Regions from separate parts of the Homo sapiens genome. Here region 1 is linked to region 2. The links are contacts of gene promoters, found by promoter capture Hi-C in blood cells and fetal thymus (Javierre and others, 2016). All regions are on one chromosome and are shown on one strand. Each heading gives the region's core, a stretch centred on a gene start or on the middle of the fragment in contact. The rest is flanking DNA. Distances are from core to core; before and after follow the strand shown.

Region 1 (5,043 bases), core at 220-2,719, 180 kb after region 2:
GGATGCCGTGAGACAATCCACCCTGGAGAGCCTACCAGTCCCCTTATGTTTGACAGCTGGAGTTGGAATTTGCCTCCCGCAGACCACAGGTCTACAGCCTTCATTCACGTGTCGCACAGACTGTGGCAGGACCAGCACCCGCTGCTGGTGTGGGACGCCTGGCCCTGTAGGGGACCCCAAGAGTGGCTGGAGAGCAGGGCGTGATGCCTCTTGGGCCACCCTGCAAAGGGCTCACGAGCCTCCTGAGGAGGATGCATTTGATCAGGGTAACAGGAGTCAGCAGAGGGCTTTCCAAGGACAGGTTTGCCAAGAAGCGAGAACAGACTGAGGGGGGAACGATAGAGGCACTGGGTGTAGTCAGACACCACTGCAATGGTAGCCGAAAACCGCGCCGTGAGAAGACTCTGTGGGGAGGGTAACTAGGTGCATGAGAGTGAGAGGAGCGAAAAAAGCCTCGGATGGCTCCGAAGCTCCTGGCCCAGCTTCCAGGGGTTGGTGGCCCAGGACCGCCCCTGCACGCGGCCTCGGGTGCCTGCTCCAGGCAGACCTGCTTCTCTGGCCCATTCTCGGCACCAATCACTGTCCCATCCGCCCGTCAGCCAAGTCCTCTGAGTTCTTCCCGGAGCCCAGCACCCTGATGCAATTGTCCCTGCTCTGAAAACCCTCAGCAATCTATTGGGTCTTCAGTAGCATCTACTCTTTCTAGAAATGTCGAACAAGGTTTTTCGATTGTGCTGCACGTGTGGCAGACACAGAAACGGAAACGACCTTCCAGAGAACTGGCCAAAGGACGGGAGCTGCTCCAGTAACTGAAGGGCACAGACTGAGCGCTTCTGATGGAGTCGGGGAGGTCGCCGGCCCATCCACCGGCTGCCCGAGGGCCTCCCACTGACCTCCCCCGGCCGCCCTCCGAGGGGCCTCTGCTGACCTCGCCGTGCTGGGCACGCTCGGCTTTAGCGGGAAGCTGGGGGTCAGGTTCAAGGCTGTGAGGAGCCACTTCAGCCCGGGAATCTGAATTTTTTCTTCAAAAGCGCCTGTCCCCACAATGGGTTTGTACTGGGGAAAAAACCCACACACGGGATGAGGTGCCCGGCTTCTGTGAGGGTTCTGAGCACTTCGTTTTTCTTCCCTTTAGATTCTGACAACTGTGGACTAAAAGGGTTGCAGGCCCAGTGCCGGAATTCCAGTATCACCTTCCACCAGGCTCCTCACACGTCGACATGGCCCCCACTTGGTGGTCTGGCAGGCGTCGGCGGTTGGGGACGGCGCCCCGGGGACCCCGCGGCCCTAGCCTTCCCCGGCGCCCCGCGAACGCCCTCCGCGGCCCCAGCAGCTGAGCGCCTGGGTCCCTGAGAGGCACCCCAGGAGGGCGGCGCGGGCGGGTAACGTCACACACGCGCCGCATCCTGGATGCGCGTGCGCGGCAGCGGCCGAGACTCCGTTTCCCAGGGAGCCGCGCGGCGCGTCCACTTCCGGCAGGCGGCGGGGCCCGGAAGCGGCGCGCGGGGCCGGCGAATCCCGCGGCGCCAGGTGGGAGCGGGGCCGGAGCATGCGGGGCGGCCGGCGGTCTGCGGCGCGCGGCGCATTCGTTCCCCCGCGGCGGTGGCGGTGGCGCGCGGCGGCTCTCCAGTGAGCGGCGGAGCCCGGAGCGGCGGGCTGGGCGCCGGGCGGGCGGGGCTCGCGGCTGAGAGGCGGGCGGGCCGGGGGCGCCGGGCGCGGGGCCGCCATGTGGAGCGGCCGCAGCTCCTTCACCAGCTTGGTGGTGGGCGTGTTCGTGGTCTACGTGGTGCACACCTGCTGGGTCATGTACGGCATCGTCTACACCCGCCCGTGCTCCGGCGACGCCAACTGCATCCAGCCCTACCTGGCGCGGCGGCCCAAGCTGCAGGTGAGCGTCCGCGGGGCCGGGGGCCGGGCGGGTTGGGGTGGGGGCCTCTCCTCCAGGCCCCAGACGTCGCCTTCCCGTCCCAGTTCGGAGCTGTGGCCGCGCGAGTCGAGATGGAACCTTTCCTGGTTCCCCAGCGGCCAGGTCTTCCGCCCTCCAGCTGGCCGTGGGATTTGAGTGCGTCCTGCCAGGGCCTGGCCGAGCTGACTCTCGACGCCCCCTCCTTTCCAGCTGAGCGTGTACACCACGACGAGGTCCCACCTGGGTGCTGAGAACAACATCGACCTGGTCTTGAATGTGGAAGACTTTGATGTGGAGTCCAAATTTGAAAGGTATGGGCGTAGGACAAAATGCCAGTGAAAGGGAAAACATTACTCATGTTCAGATTGTTTAAAAGTTAGCTTTCTGTACATAACATGTTTATTTTAGAGAACTAGTCTTACCGAATGTCTTGAAGTGGTAGAATATCCTAACTGGAGGCCTATGCGTGGCCTGTAAACATTCAGCCTGGAAGGTGACAGGTGATGAATGTCGTTTAAGAAGTAGTTCTCAGCAGAGTGTGATGGCAGTGGGATGTCCTGGACGGGGAGGCTCCGAAGGAGCAGGGGCCACGCTTGGTGAACCAGTGGAGAGCAGACAACTCTGCAGTTTCACTACCGGGGACCAACTTGTCTTTTCCTGGTGGAAGTAGTTCGCTTAAGTTACTTGTGAGGGAAAAGAGATGAGGATAGAGGAAGCAATTTTGTAGAAAATCATAAATAAGTGACATGTGACGTTAGAATAGATCAATGTCCAAATATGTAGAGTATCTTAAAAATTACATCTGACATGGCCTAATTTTTTTTAATTGAATAAGTATACTTTTAAATATGATTTGCTTCTCACAAGTCAACCATTTCCCTTCATTGCCTGGGAGGTATCTGAGGAGAGAATAATGAAAGTTTGAGACTCATGCTGGACTCCACGCCCTCTAGGCAGCCAGTCCCTGGGGGTAGCTGGAGGCGCTGGCAAGCCGGTTTCTGCCTGGCCTCTTTAGGCCTGTGACCTCAAGCCAGTTCCTGCCCTCTCTCTGCCTCCATGAAGGGGAGGCCAGAAGTGCTGGTGACCAAGCTGCCCGCTCGGTTGTAGCTGCCCACACCTTTCAAAAATGCTCAGGATTCATCTGCACTGGGTTTAATTTCCCAGACATGAATACTGCCTCTTCCGTGCCGGGCCGTGTACCAGTTACCAAGGACAGCTAGTGAGGTTTTCCATTTGACCTGGCACAGTGTCAGCCTGGAGGAAGTGGGGAGAATGAGCACTCTTAACACAGCTCCGCCTCAAGTGTCTCCAAGTGCACATTCCACCAGAAATACACAGCCCTGCACCCTCTGCCTGAAGAGAGACACTTAAGATGTCCTGGTGGAGACATACTCTTTCCTGGGTAGTGAGGAGCCATAGATGCCTTTGTGTTTTTCATTACAACTTTGGCCGTAAGATTTTTTTTTTTTTTTGAGATAGAGTCTTGCTCTGTTGCCAGGCTGGAGTGCAGTGGCGTGATCTCTGCTCACTGCAACCTCCGGTTCCCGGGTTCAAGGGATTCTCCTGCCTTAGCCTCCAAAGTAGCTGAGACTACAGGCACCCGCCACCACGCCTGGCTAATTTTTTTATTTTTAGTAGAGACAGGGTTTCACCATGTTGGCTGGGCTGGTCTGAAACTCCTGACCTCGTGATCTGCCCGGCTCGGCCTCCCAAGGTGCTGGGATTACAGGCGTGAGCCGCCGCACCCGGCCAACCGTAAGATTTTTAAGGAGAGGCCGGGCACAGTGACTCATGCCTATAATCCCAGCAGTTTGGGAGGCCAAGGCGGGAGGATCACTTGAGCCCAGCAGTTCAAGACCAGCCTAGGCAATGTGACAAAACCCCATCTCTACAACAGTTTTCAAAGTTAGCCAGGCATGGTGGCACGCCCACCTGTAGTCCCAGCTACTCGGGAGACTGAGGCGGGAGGTCACTTGAGCTCAGGAGGTTGAGGATGCAGTGAGCTGTGATTGCACCCCTACACTTTCAGCCTGGTGACAGCGAGACCTTGTCTCAAAAAAGAGACTTTTAAAGAGGAAGAAGAACTCATGTAACCGTAAACAGGTGGAATGCGAGGTTTTTCCATGGGGCTGTAGTATGGACGTCGGGCCCTGGTGTGCGGGTGAAGAGCCAGGCACCTGGTCCGAGGCCTACAGTTGTAGCAGCTCGCCGGGCCTTTCCTCAGCTCGTGCTGGATGCCACACAGTCAGGACTGACAGCCTTGAAAGTCAGTCCTTTGTGGCTGATCATCTTTTTATCCTTAAAACTACAACACCCAAAAAAACTACCCACATTAAATTTCTGAGGTTCCAGTAGTGTGGGCCGAGGCACCTGGAGCCCTCGTGGCTGCTGCCCTTCCCTTCTGTCGCTTCGGAGTTGGGTGATTCAGTGTGTGTGGTCAGCTGGTACCCTGGCCAGGCCCAGAAGCTGCTTTCCATCTGGCTGCTTCAGCCTTGTGGCCTCAGGTGGGTTATTGACCTCTCAGCCTCCTGAGATGGAGGCAGGAAGTGCGGGCCGTTTTGCTTTCGGCTGTAGGCGCCCACACCTGTGCCGAGTTCTCAGGACGCGCACGCGTGCGCGTGCACACACACACACACACACACACACACACACGACTCGTAAAGCCCTGGGCAGGTGGGTTTCATTTTTAGTACTTCTGAGCTAAAATTAGTTTATTGAAGCAGCTTTATAAAGGTATTTGAATAGGTTCTAGAGACCCAGAATATAATATGTATGTAGTGGAAATGATTGTTCTGTTTCAGGACAGTTAATGTTTCTGTACCAAAGAAAACGAGAAACAATGGGACGCTGTATGCCTACATCTTCCTCCATCACGCTGGGGTCCTGCCGTGGCACGACGGGAAGCAGGTGCACCTGGTCAGTCCTCTGACCACCTACATGGTCCCCAAGCCAGAAGAAATCAACCTGCTCACCGGGGAGTCTGATACACAGGTGAGGGTCTTCATGGGTTACTGATAACAGGCTGTGCCTCTCCGTCAGAACGGACATGTCTTTCTCCACACAGGTGGGCGATGTCTAGGGCTCCAGTGACTTTGTTGGGAGTAAAGCCAAAAGCCATTGGAATGTTACTGGCGTGC
Region 2 (5,375 bases), core at 1,826-4,325:
AGGAATTTCCTTGCTGCTCCTCCACGCTTGCGCTGATTTCCCCATAAGCAGCCCCTCTCCCCCACCCCTCGCAGTCCCCAGGAGAAAACTGACTCCCACACACAAGAGTGCCCCAGCTCCCCACCCCCTGGGCACGTGCCCTGTGGACCATCCAACCCCTTCCAGCTGCAGCAGAGAAGGAGTCCCCGCTCCGGGCCCCAGGCCTTTCCTTCCTCTGAGCGCAGAATCCTTCCAGACTGAGATGGGCCCATGACACCCCCTCTCACAGGGGTTTTCAACGTCTCCTGTGAGGCTGGCCTGTTGCCTTCCACCCAGGAACATGTCCTGGGCCCCTTCCTTGAGCTGCTGCCCTGGATCCCAGCCTCCCGCCAAGCATCCATTTTCCTCCTCCTGCCCATCACGCTTCCTCCTTTCTCAGGTAGCTGGGAAAGAACCTCTGTAACTCCTGCCCACTCCACAGCACCCTGCAGGGTGGTGGTCTCCACCCTTGCTACTACCACTGGCTGGCCTTCCCAGTTCTCTCCTGGCCAGTCCTCCTGGATGGGGCAGTTCCGTGGACTCAGCCCCTCTGGGGACCTCCGCTCCTTGGCCGCTCTCTGGGGCCTTCTTGGGTTCTGCTTGGTGAGGACGAGTGTGCCCCAGTCCTGCCCCCTGCTCTGCACAGCCCTTGGCCCTGTCACACCCACCCTCCCAGCTGTGCCCCCTTGTGTACTGACCCCGGAGCTGGGCCTCTGCGCCTCCTCCACATGGTGCCTGTGACCCAAGGATCCACTGAGCTTCTACACCAAGGCCACGCTGCCCACAGTGGCTCCACCTAAGACCCCTCTGGGAGAGGGACTCCTCTTTCCACCGACCTTGGCTCAAGGACAACCTGCTGACCCTGCTTAGATTGCCGGGCAGTATGAGGTTCTTCCCCCAGCCTCCCCACCTCCTTCCCTGGGTTCCAACTCACTTTGCACTCTGCAGGTTAAAGCAGAAGGAATTTATTCTCTCCCAGTCTGGAGGCCAGAAGCCTGCGATCATGGCACCCTAGGCCTAGGCTCCCTCTGAGAGCACTAGAGAGGACCTGCTCCAGGCCTCTCCAGCTCCTGGGAACTGCTTGCCTGTAGCAGCAGAACCCTGGCCTTCCCATGGAGCTCTCTCTGTGTCTGTCTCTGAGACCGAATCTCCCTCTCTATAGGGACACAAGCCATTTCAGACTAGGGCCCACCCTAATGACTTCCTCTTAACCTGATCATCTGCAAAGACCCTGTTTCCAAATAAGGTCGCGGCCACAGGTGCTGTGGGTTAGGACTTTTGCATCTTCTGGGGACACAGCCATGACTCTCTGGCAGCTCTCCCCATTGAATCTGGCTCTGCACCATCTCCAGCAGGTTTCCCCTCCGCCACACACCGCTTCCTGGCCTGTGCTTCTGGGAGGACCCCACTTTCATGGCTCTCCAAGTCCAGTCCTGAGGCTGCTCTCATCCCAGGACTGGGACACCCTAGGGCCCCTCCTCTCCAGAGCACTCAGGCAGCAGGTGGGGCCGCCTGGATCGCTGGGGTGCAGGTGCTGCCCTGTGGCTGGCAGGCTTTGTGTCCTGGGCTTTCTTGATGATCAGTTCGGTGAGGAGCCTTGGGTGGCCTCGGGTGCTGGGCTCTGGTTTTGGGGATCAGAGCAAGTGGCCACTAAAAGCCCAGGAGGTGGGTGCAACGCTGGTGGCTGGGCCACAGAGCCACCAATGCCCACCAGCACACAGGGCTCACCCCATCCCCGTGGGTGTGGCACTTGGGACAGGTGCTGCTGCTAGGCATGGGCTGGGACTCTTATGGGGCAGGAATATGGGCTGGGACTCTTATGGGGCAGGAATAAGGCCATGCAGCGGGTCTGGCCTGCCGGGGCCTTCTCTGTGCATGATATGTGGATGGCACAGACCCCTGGCCCTCACCCCGGTCTCAGACACAGAAGGGTCTCTGCCAGCCCGCTGCACTATGAGGTCCACAAGGGCGCAGGCAGGGTCATTGGAGGGGTCGGGGCACTCCCTGGCGTCTGCTGAGGATGGGGCCCAGCTGGGGCCAACACAGCAGTGACATCCCCAGGAGCCAGGACCCTGGGGGGTTGGCCAGGTGGCCCAAACCGGCTCTGTCTGGGTGAGGTCCGTTGGCCATGAAGGAACCAACAGGGCCAGCCGGGGTGAGGAAGCCGTGAGCACTGTGACCGAAGGCCTGCGTGAGTTCTGAAATCCAAGCGTGTTCACCCGGAGGCAGGAGCCCATCCTACTCTCGCTCCGGCTAATTATGGGCCCCACCCTGGGGCTCCTCACACGGCTCCTGAGCACCACAAGGGCAATGCCCGAGCCAAAGCAGCTACGGGTGAGAAAGCGCTGGGATCTCATCGCAGCCCCTGCACAACCAGCACGGACAGTCAGGGCCCCTATGTGCGCCTCCTGCCTGGGCCATCCCTGCGGGGCCTGAGGCCTGAGAGGTCCTGAGATCGGAGGGGTCCTGAGGTCTGAGGGGGTCCTGAGGCTTGAGGGGTCCTGAGATCTGAGGGGATCCCGAGGTCTGGGGGGTCCTAAGGTCGAGTGGACCTCAGGCGGGAGTCGCCTGGGCTGAGGCGCGGCTGGAAGAAGCTCCCTCAGCCCGGGGCAGCTTCCAGGGTCGCCGGTGCGAGCTAGGAGCCCAACGAATAAGAAGAATGGCGTGGGGCCTTCGCCGGAACAGCCCGGGGCTCGGCACCCAGGGCCTGGCCCGCCTTGCGCGTAAGCTGGACGCGTGCCCGCCCCTTCCTCCCTCCCCGCGAGCAGGCGGGCCGAGCGGCGGAAGGGGACGACGTGGCAGCCTCGCGGGCCCGGGGGACCTCCCTTTCTCCTGGCGCAGACCCTGCCGGGGATCCCTGTGCTCCAGTGGCTGCAGGAGGCGCCCCCGGTCCCCAGCGGCCCCGGCCCCCCACAGACCCCAGAGAAACCACCAGGTAGCGGAACTCCGGCTGGTGCCGCCCCTGCCGGCCGGCGGGAGGCGAGGCTTCCAGGGACGCCCCGCCCCGGCCGGCGCTCCCGCTCCGCCCACGTCACCTCCCGCGCCTGCGCGCCCGGCCCGCTCCAGCCGCCGCGCATCCTCGGCCCGCGCCCCGAGACCCGCGCCCAGCTAGCCCCGGCCCCGCTCGGCGCCCCAGGCAGCTCGGCTGCGCTCGCCGCGGGACGGCGCGGCCATGAGGCTGCGGGGATGCGGACCCCGGGCCGCCCCTGCCTCCAGCGCAGGGGCCAGCGACGCTCGGCTGCTGGCGCCCCCGGGGCGGAACCCCTTCGTGCACGAGCTGCGCCTCAGCGCCCTGCAGAAGGCCCAGGTGGGTGCCCAGGGCGCGCGGCCCCGGGAGCCGGCGCGGACGCCAGGGATGCTGGGGCCAGGGAGGCGCGGCCGAGGAGGGGCCGGGGAGGGGGCCTGGGGCGCGGCGCGGCCCTGCGAGCCGCGGCGCCTTCCCTCCCCGCGGCCGCCCCTCAGTTCGCGTCCCCGCCGCCCGCACCCGATGCCTCGGTCTCGGCGCCGGCTTCCCGCCGCCCGCACGCGCATCCTGGTCCCTCAGCGCCTTCCTCGGGGTCCCCGCTTCCCATCCCCGCCCCGCGTTCTGCTCCTCCCCCCAGACCCCTGCACCCTGAACCGGGCCCACAACCCTTTCTCTGCCTCCCAGAGCCCCGACCTCGGCTCCCGCGGGAGGCTGGACCCGCATCGCCGGTCCCCGCGCTCGTCCCTGGTCCGGGCCCCGCCCGCCTTGGCAGGCCCTGCGCGCAGCCCGGGGACTCCGGAGCGGCTTTGCCTGGACGCGGCCCGCGGGCGGGAGGGCACCGCGGCTCTGGGTGAGCCTCGTGTGCGGGGCCTGGTGGTGCCCGGGACAGGGCGCGCGGGCGGTGCGGGTCCCCTGTAGGGTCCCCTGTAGGCGCACGGGTCTCCCTGCTCTGCGGCCGCACGTTGCCTTCTGGGGTGCATGCTTCGCTCCTGTTGTAAGGGATGCTTTCTCGGGGCTGGTCTGACCCGAATCAACTTTATGCAACCTGGGCTGCCACGTGGGAGGGAACGGTTTGCTGAGATCCTGCGATGGGACAGTGGTGAGGGGAGACCCGGGGGCGTCGTGGGGAGGGGGCCGCTCGCTGCAGGAAGCTGCACCGGGGATGTGCTGGCTCAGCCTGGCTTTTCCGGCTACCTGGCTGCCAGCTGGGCTTACAGTTACCTGAGATCCACTCTCAAGAGGACCTTACTTTTGACTCTAGAATAATTCCTAGAAGCAAGCACTGTTTCGGGGCCTATGGGGCTGTCCGGTTTGTAGGGAGCACGCTTCCAATTGTGAGAATAGATTTCCGGGAAGATGGAGATTTGTTAATGCATAAAGTACTTTATCTGAAAGAACCCTGAAGTGAAAAGTTCTTGAGGCCAGTTTGAGCTTGTCATTTTCCCAGGACGCCTGCTTTTGCTCAAAGCCCCTTGATGCGGCTGGTCCTCAGGGTATGGAAGGGGACGGGGAGCAGGAGAGCCCGATGGTGCCGCCCCTCCTGGTGACACACAGGGTGAGGTCGTCCCCAGCCTGGCTCCCAGGCCCTGGCCCCCGTCTCCCTGTGTGTCGGGAGCTGGACTCTGGGGCTGGGGCGGTGCCGGCCCCTCTGCCGCCGCTCTGCCTGGCCCTCTGTCTGCCACACGCTGTCAGCTGCCGTGTGCTGTGCCCCTCAAAGGAGGACTTGGGACACGGTCGCTCATTCTGTGCCCCTCAACCATTCCTCCTCTTCAATCCTCACCCCCACCCAGCCACCAGGCTCTCTCCCTGGTCACTCTCCCTGAGTCACTCCCAGCAGGCTTTCTTCCTCCTGCACTCTGCTGCTCGGAAGCCCTCAGCGGGGACGCCCCCGGATGAAATTCGAACCCCTGCTGTGGTTTCCAGGGCTTCCCCAGCCCTGCTCCTGCCCCAGCTATGGCTGCCTCAGGCATGCTCTCTCTTCCTGCCTTTCCTACTCCCTCCTGGCTCCCTGGGGGGAAACATCAAGCCCCTCCCTGGAGGTCCCCGGAGGCCACTTCGTCATCCCTGTCATAGTTGCAGCCCCCGGTTGAGGTGTGTTCTGTCCAAAAGTGTGCACCCACTGCCCTGGCGAGAAGCAGGGCAGAGACTCTCATGGGTAGGTACAGATGTCAGGGCACTGCCAGAGTGCCCAGAGGGGCCTGCTTTCCTCCCCGAGACCTCAGGGTGCAAGCTGCTCCCAGTGGCTCTTGGGCAGGGGGTCATCGAGAGGCTCCTGGTCCCGAGATTGAAGGCTTTGGGCAGCTGTTCTCCCTTGGGCCGAAGCCAGGCAGAGATCCTGGCTTGAGGTGTTGGGGCCTCTCAGAGAGGGGGCTTGCTTTGTTGCCACTTCAGA

What was found. Contacts are between HindIII fragments. The CHiCAGO score rates a contact against its expected background, and 5 or more counts as called.
Region 1: a contact is called between the fragment with the promoter of CLPTM1L here and the fragment with the promoter of LPCAT1 in region 2, in 2 of 17 cell types (naive CD4 T cells and monocytes). The highest score is 6.1, in naive CD4 T cells.

Annotation. Positions count from the first base shown.
Region 1 is chr5:1,341,525-1,346,567 of GRCh38, reverse strand. CLPTM1L (CLPTM1 like) reads left to right here and starts at 1,469. Exons shown (of 17, transcript NM_030782.5): 1 at 1,469-1,888; 2 at 2,117-2,217; 3 at 4,708-4,897. The coding sequence starts at 1,727. The HindIII fragment of the contact is 23,624 bases long and covers 1-5,043 here.
Region 2 is chr5:1,521,660-1,527,034 of GRCh38, reverse strand. It overlaps LPCAT1 (lysophosphatidylcholine acyltransferase 1), which reads left to right and starts at 3,075. Exons shown (of 14, transcript NM_024830.5): 1 at 3,075-3,325. The coding sequence starts at 3,191. RefSeq lists a cis regulatory region at 1,683-1,918, silencers at 2,688-3,087, 3,108-3,417, 3,688-3,887 and an enhancer at 5,048-5,375. The HindIII fragment of the contact is 5,602 bases long and covers 1-5,375 here.